Regions from separate parts of the Homo sapiens genome. Here region 2 is linked to region 1. The links are contacts of gene promoters, found by promoter capture Hi-C in human tissues and cell types (Jung and others, 2019). All regions are on one chromosome and are shown on one strand. The core of a region is centred on a gene start or on the middle of the fragment in contact, and the rest is flanking DNA. Distances in the headings are between cores, read along the strand shown.

The links. The method cuts DNA at HindIII sites, captures the fragments that hold promoters and counts their contacts. A contact is called where the count stands out against the background at its distance.
Region 2: a contact is called between a fragment that was not itself captured here and the fragment with the promoter of ZNF418 in region 1, in 2 of the 25 tissues and cell types used here (bladder and heart right ventricle).

What each region holds. Positions count from the first base shown.
Region 1 is chr19:57,933,569-57,937,372 of GRCh38, forward strand. It overlaps ZNF418 (zinc finger protein 418), which reads right to left and starts at 1,834. Exons shown (of 6, transcript NM_133460.3): 1 at 1,593-1,834; 2 at 249-334. The coding sequence starts at 254. RefSeq lists enhancers at 1,237-2,119, 1,712-1,801. The HindIII fragment of the contact is 9,006 bases long and covers 1-3,804 here.
Region 2 is chr19:58,076,329-58,080,132 of GRCh38, forward strand. No RefSeq gene overlaps it. Among named protein-coding and RNA genes, the nearest start is that of ZNF135, 19 kb to the left of the region's middle. The HindIII fragment of the contact is 6,468 bases long and covers 1-3,804 here.

The sequences.
Region 1 (3,804 bases), core at 584-3,083:
AAATTAGCTGAGCATGGTGACGGGCGCCTGTAGTCCCAGCTACTCGGGAGGTTGAGGCAGGAGAATGGCGTGAACCCGGGAGGCAGAGCTTGCAATGAGCCAAGATCGTGCCACTGCACTCCAGCCTGGGCGATAGAGCGAGACTCCCGCTCAAAAAAAAAAGGAAAATCTAGTTGCCATTTTACAAACTGTGAATCTTGAATCCAGCCACAGCTCCTTACTCATTAATATGGTCCAGTAACCCTCACCTGCATTATGGCAGGAGTTTAAACTCTGATCCTCCTTCCTCCTCCCTCAAACACAGTGTGTTCTCTTCTTTGCAGCCAGATGATGCCTGCAGACAAATGGGACTGTGGTAACATCACCTCCTCGCCGCCCTCTTGCCTCCCCACCGAATTTTTACCTCTAAGCATTTCATGACCTGGTACCAACTCTGTAGTTAACCTTCAAAGTATGTTTACATGGGTTGACAGAAATGGGAATACCTCCATACATCCTGTGTCATGGACTTAGGATTCTGGGTTTAGGGTTTCTCCAGTGTTCTCAGATCAAAGGACTGAAAAAATGGCAAGTAAGAGTCCCAGGACATCACAAGCTAGAGAACATGTGAATGGGGAATAAGGCCAGTGAGGGAATGGAACACCCTCTAATTCCCTCTGTGGGTTCCTTTTTTTGAGCCAGAGTTTCGCTCTTGTTGCCCAGGCCGGAGTGCAATGGCTCACCGCAACCTCTGCCTCCCGAGTTCAAGCAATTCTCCTGCCTTAGCCTCTGAGTAGCTGGGATTACAGTCATGCGGCATCACCACGCCTGGCTAATTTTGTATTTTTGTTAGAGACGGGGTTTCTCCATGTTGGTCAGGCTGGTCTCGAACTCCCGACCTCAGGTGATCCGCCCGCCTCGGCCTCCCAAAGTGCTGGGATTACAGGTGGGAGCCACCTTGCCCGACCCCCTCAGTGGGTTCTTTACGTGCTTTTGTAGCCAGGAGTGTCTGAGGGGAAAGCAGACGTTACAAAGGGGATCTGATAAGCTCAGGTCTCCTTGAACCTTTTCTTATCGCTGGAGCCAGGTGACCTCAGACTGGTTGACCTGCGTGTCTCAGTGCAAAATGTCATCTCTACCACCTATGTGATCTATCAACAAAGGAGTCAACCTCCCAGAACCCTAAGGTCCTCATCTCCTCTACTATGTTCTTCCTTTGGCCTTTGGGAAACCTTAAAAGCCTGGACTTGGATCGCATCCCTCCTTTCTTCGAAACTCTCCATGGCTTCTAGCGTCTTCACAGCGAATACACAGCCCCCAGCCTGCTCTTCCAGGAGAAGCTTCGCCTCACACGTTGTTCCCTACAGGCGCCTGTGGACCCCAGGTTCCATCCTCCCGGGTCTGTCCTCCAGGCCATAGCCCGCGCCGGTCCCTGTGCCTGTCGCTCTCCCCACCGCATCCCACAGGTGTCAGAAACAAGGACCTCTCCCGCGAACGCCTCAGTGTCCCGACGCCGGGTCCGGGCTGCAGACCTGTGAACAGTCGCCGCTCTCTCGCTGCTTCAGGATTCGGGTTAGGATGAGGTGACCTGAGGGCAGGGAAGGCACAATTACCTGAGCCGGGAGCCTCAGCGCGGCCGCCGCCATCCCGAGTACGCGGGGAAAGCACTGCCGGGAGCGGCGGGCGCCGTTACGGGGCCTAAGATCTGCCTCTGTGCAGCAAGAAGGACTCTTCACCTTCTGGGTTCAGACACCGCGGTTCGGACCCATAGCTCCAGCGCCTCTCACCTCACAAACCGCAGAAACACACCCAACATTAACCAAAATGGTCGCTACCAGAGAACGCTGAGAATCCCGCCACTACGTTACGTGCGCACACAGAAACGCCTTTATTCTGAGCCCTTACTGGTTCTGTTGCGCTGTCATTCAATGTAGAGCTTTCTGGGTAATGTAGTTCCCCAGGTTCCAAGGTAGTAAAGCTGCCGCTTCCCAAAGGCGCTTCTGCAGGGAAGTCCCAGCCCTACCTCAGGGGGTTCATTAAAGCGCGTACCCTTTTAGGGCAGAGGATGGTCTCGCCCCTCCTTAGAGGCCATATTGAGATTCCTGGGGAATCCCTGTTTGTAACTGACCACCTAAGTGTTTGCAAAAATATTAATTCACATTTCTGTAAATTCAAGCTCCCAGGCGCTAAAAATACTGTGAAGGCCCCCAAAGGCTACAAATCCAAATTCGTGTATCACTTTATACAATCGTTTAGACACAGAATGCTTGCACTGGAAGCAGAGGCTGATAAACATTACTCTGTTATAATTCACATGAATGCACTCTTGTTACCGGATAGAATGTCTTGGCTGTGAGTTGTCCAGTTGTTGGCGCATTGAACAAAGAAGTGAACAAAACACACAAAAAAAGCAACGAAAGAACGGACCAATGAAAGCGCAGATTTATTGAGGGGAAAGTACACTCCACAGAAGTGGAATGTAGGTGTGGGAGCAGGCGACCAAGCGGCTCAAGAACCCCGATTACAATGTTTTTTAGGGTTTTATTAGGTTGGTGCAAAAGTAATTGCGGTTTTTGCCATGAATAAGCTAGAATTTTATAATACCCCAAGAGTTCTTTAAAGGCCTCCAATCCTATGAAGGACTGGTGCACAACCAATCAGAGGCTGAAGTGGAGACTTCTGTCTTGTTACCACAGGAGTGAGGACGTGGCCTGTGTGCTGCCTCATCTTGCCTAGAACTAGCTGCACCTGCTGTTCTTTTGCTTATGCCTTCATTCTTGGTTACCCTAATTCCCTATTCTCCTGCCTCACTCTGAGGCATTAGAGTTGGTTTTTCAGTCTGCCAGGGACAAAAGAGAACTAATCCAGATAGGACCATGCCAAGGAAGATAGAGGAGAGGCTAAAGAAAGAGTACAAAGGTCAATCAGTCGTTCCCATGGAAAAACAACTCTCCTGCTTATATAGTCAATTATTGTGTCCAATTCATTCAGCAAAACATTTATTCATGTAATATCCCTTACTTGGTATTCTAACTTATATTTTCAACTCATTTTAGGAACTTGAAGTCAGTCTCAGGTAAAGAACAATGAAAGAGAAATCTCAGCTTGGTATTGGTAATGGTGGTGATAATCTCCACCTGGAGACACTAGGCGTATGTTAAATTATCGAGCTTGTTATCTTTCCTGGGAAGTGATTATCATTTGTTTCTCTTGTGACAGCGGGGAGTGTTCTGCATGAGGAACTAATATGATACCAGAAAAACAGGTGAAATGCCAGTTACAGAAACTTATTACCAACGACTATCTAATAACTGCGATGACAGAAATAGGTCAATTGAAACATGAGTGGATGGTGAAAAAAATTTACACTTCACAGAAGTTTTTCTTTCTTTTTTTTTTTTTTTTTTTTTGAGACAAAGTCTCGTTCTGTCCCAGACTGGAGTGCAGTGGCGCCATCTTGGCTCACTGCAACCTCCACCTCCCGGGTTCAAGCGATTCTCCTGCCTCAGTCTCCCAAGTAGCTGGGATAACAGATGCCTGCCACCACGCCCAGCTAATTTTTGTATTTTTAGTAGAGACAAGGTTTCACCATGTTGGCCAGACTGGTCTCAAACTCTTGACCTCTGACCTGCCTGCCTCCTTCTCCCACAATGCTGACATTACAGGCATAAGTCACTGCTCCCAGCTGACTTTACAGGTGTTTGTTTGTTTGTTTGTTTGTTTTGAGAAGGAGTTTCACTCTTGTTGTCCAGGCTGGAGTACAATGGCACAGTTTCAGCTCACTGCAACCTCCTCCTCCTGGGTCAAGCAATTCATTCTCCTGCC
Region 2 (3,804 bases), core at 470-2,969, 140 kb after region 1:
AGTTAGTGGGCAAGATAGGCAAAGCAAGTCATCAGAAGAAAAGCAAGGTGAGTCATAGCGGAGAAAACACAGTAAGACGGGCCAGACGCAGTGGTTCACACCTGTAATTTCAACACTTTGTGAGGCTGAGGCGGGTGGATCACCTGAGGTCAGGAGTTCGAGACCAGCCTGGAGAACATGGTGAAACCCTGTCTTTACTAAAAAATACAAAAATTACCCAGGCATGGTGGCAGAAGCCTGTAATCCCAGCTACTCGGGAGGCTGAGGCAGAAGAATTGCTTGCAGTGAGCCGAGATTGTGCCACTGCACTCCAGCCTGGGCGACAAGAGCAAGACTTTGTCTCAAAAAAAAAAAAAAAAAAAAAAGTGATAAGATGAATACCAGCCCAGAGATGATAACAACTTGGGGATTATTGTGTTTGGTGAATGGGGTGAGGGACGTCACATTAAAACCATGGCATCAGGGCAAACCTCCGTGAAAAGACAGGCAGAGCCACAGCTGGAGAGACCTCCCCAGTACTGGGGCCTTGGTGAGGAGCTGGGGAGCTTAGATTTACCATGTCCCAGAAGCCACCCTCTCACTGAGCAGATTTCCCTGGCAGTTGCCCCCATCGCATGTGGCTGGTCCCTCAGGAGCCTGTGTCTCAAGAGCTACCTGGTCAGCCAGAGGCTGGACTTTGGAAAGCTGTTCATTTCATTGAGACATCTGGGAACCTTTCTACAAATTCATGTTCTCTCGAGTTGAGGGAAGGCTGGGCTGCACTATGTTTTGAGGCTCTGGCTTCATGGATTTGCCATGAAAGTAAGCTGAAACTCTAGGTCCCTCACTTTCAGGGATCCCTTCAAGACCAAGCGCCTAATTTTATCTTTGTAATTTTGAATTATTCTTCTGAAGAGGGACCCCTCAGTTGTGTGAGCCTTAGGCCCAACAAATCTGGATCGACCCCTGGTTCCAGCAACCCTCGTCTTAGAGACTTCTGCATGGACACTGGGAAGACAGAACCCAGCACTGCCAAGGGTAATGGATCTCCCATTTTGATGTGAGTGAAAACCACCTGAAGGTGGAGGGTGTTAAACCTGGGACCTTGCTTTGGTTGGTCCGAGGGGGTTTGGTAATCTGCACACCAAGGCACTGGGTGATTCTGAAACAGACCCGGAAGCCTCAAGTGAGAACTGTGCCCAAACTTCCTGAAGCAGTTTGTCTGCGAAGCCCATAGTTCCCAAGTGTGGCCCCATCCCAGGAGCCTCTCAGGTTGAAGGAACAGCTACTAATAAATCACTGACTTCACTGGACTCAGGGTAGGCAGAATGGAGTATCTGCCTTTCTTTGCATCAAAAGCACATCACCCTATCCTGTTCTGTATCTGCCTGAAGGAAGTCCACAGGGTATTCCCGAGACCCATCAGACACCTCACTCATTTTTTCATGATACCCAAGAGACACACTTAGAATGTACGCAGACTACACATATACCAAACACATTATACTCACATCTCATACCCTGAAAAATGACTGGGAGACATAAATACACTGAGATGTCAAAAGGAGTAGTCTGTTGCCCAGGCTGGAGTGCAGTGGCACGATCTCGGCTCACTGCAACCTCTGCCTCTGGGTTCAAATGATTCTTGTGCCTCAGCCTCTTGAAGTAGCTGGGACTACAGGCACGCACCACCATGCCTAGGTAATTTTTTTGTATTTGTACTAGAGTCAAGGTTTCACCATGTTGGCCAAGCTGGTCTTGAACTCCTGACTTCAGGTGATCCTCCCACCTGGGCCTGTCAAAGTGCTGGGATTACAGGCATGAGCCACAGTGCCCGGCCGAATCTGTGTTTTTAACTTTTACATAATTGGGAGAATTCTTTTTAAAATGGTGAAAAATGAACTTTATTATAAAAGCCCATGGCTGGGCGCGGTGGCTCACACCTAGCACTTTGGGAGGTTGAGGTGGGCAGATCACTTGAGGCCAGGGGTTCGAGACCAGTCTGGCCAACATGGTGAAACCCCATCTCTACTAAAAATACAAAAGTTAGCCGGGCATGGTGGCAGGGGCCTGTAATCCCAGCTATTCAGTACACCACGGCGAGAGAATCGCTTGAACCTGGGAGGCAGAGCTTCCAGTGAGCTGAAATTGTGCCACTGCACTCCAGCCTGGGTGACAGAACGAGGCTCTGTCTCAAAAAAAAAACAAAAAAAACTTTCAAAGGAATTTAAAAAACTGAAATAAATGTCCTCATAATTTCATGACCCTAACACAACTACTCTTTGCATTTCTATACTTTGTCTGCTAGGATTTGACAACTAATGCCCACTGTTTACACAGTTGCAACAGAATCAACAGTTACATTCTACTTGAACTACACTTACAAATTACTCTTCCAGCGCCGGGCGCGGTGGCTAACGCTTGTAATCCCCAGCACTTTGGGAGGCTGAGGCGGGTGGATCATGAGGACGTGAGTTTGAGACCAGCCTGACCAATATGATGAAACCCCGTCTCTACTAAAAATACAAAAATTAGCCAGGTGTGGTGGTGCGCACCTGTAATCCAGCTACTCCGGAGGCTGAGGCAGGAGAATTGCTTGGAGCTGGGAGACGGAGGTTGCAGTGAGCTGAGATCACGCCATTGTACTCCAGCCTGGGCAACAGAGCGAGAGCGAGACTCTGTCTAAAAAAAAAAAATTCTTCGATTTTGCTAGTCTTAATTATCATTTATGCCTTTTTACTATTGCTTTGAATGGCTCTACCATTCATATTTAAGTCATAGTATTTAACTTCATGCAAACCAGCATCCTTGTGTATATATATATTTTTGGTCCTTTTTTTTCCTTTTTGTGGAGGAAAAAGTGGGGTCTCACTATGTTGCCCAGGGAGGTCTTGAACTCCTGGGCTCAAGGGATCCTCCCACCTTGGCCTCCCAAAGTGTTGGGATTATAGGTGTGAACCACTGTGCCTGGCCCCGTATTGTTACTGAATACAGTTGGACTGTTAGCTTTCCAAAATGATTGCACTAGTTGACACTGATTCATAAAACTCTCCTCAACTCAAATAGTGATGGCAGACATGTATTTGTCTGCTTGGGTTGTGATCACAAAATACCACAGGCTGGGAAGCTGAATCAACAGGAATTTATTAATATTTTCTCCCTGTTCTGGAGGCTGGAAGTCAGAGTGGGTTCCACGTGAAGCCTCTCTTCCAAGCTTGTAGATGGTTGCCATCCTGCTGTGTCTGCACCTGCCTATGGCCTTTCCTCTGTGTGTGCATGGAGAGGGAGCAATCTCTGGCGTCTCTTGCTATCTCTTTTTTTTTTTTTTTTTTGAGATGGAGTCTCGCTCTGTCGCCCAGGCTGGAGTGCGGTGGTGTGATCTCAGTTCACTGCAACCTTCACCTCCCAGGTTCAAGTTATTCTCTTGCCTCAGCCTCCCAAGTAGCTGGGATTACAGATGCCTGCCACCACACCTGGCTAATTTTTCGTAGAGATAGGGTTTTACCATATTGGCCAGACTGGTCTCGAACTCCTGACCTCAGGTAATCCACCTGCCTCAGCCTCCCGAAGTGCTGGTACAGGCGTGAGCCACTGTGCGTGGTCCTCCCTCTCTTTTTTTGAGACAGCGTCTTGCTCTGTCACCCAGGTTGGAGTGCGTGGTGTATCACAGCTCACTGCAGCTTTGACCTCCAGGGCTCATGTCATCCTCCCACCTCGGCCCCCCACGCAGCTGGGACTACAGGTACATGCCACCACACCCAGCTAATTTTTAAGTTTTTTGTAGAGACGAGGTCTAGCTGTGTTGCCCAGGCTGGCTCCTGGGCT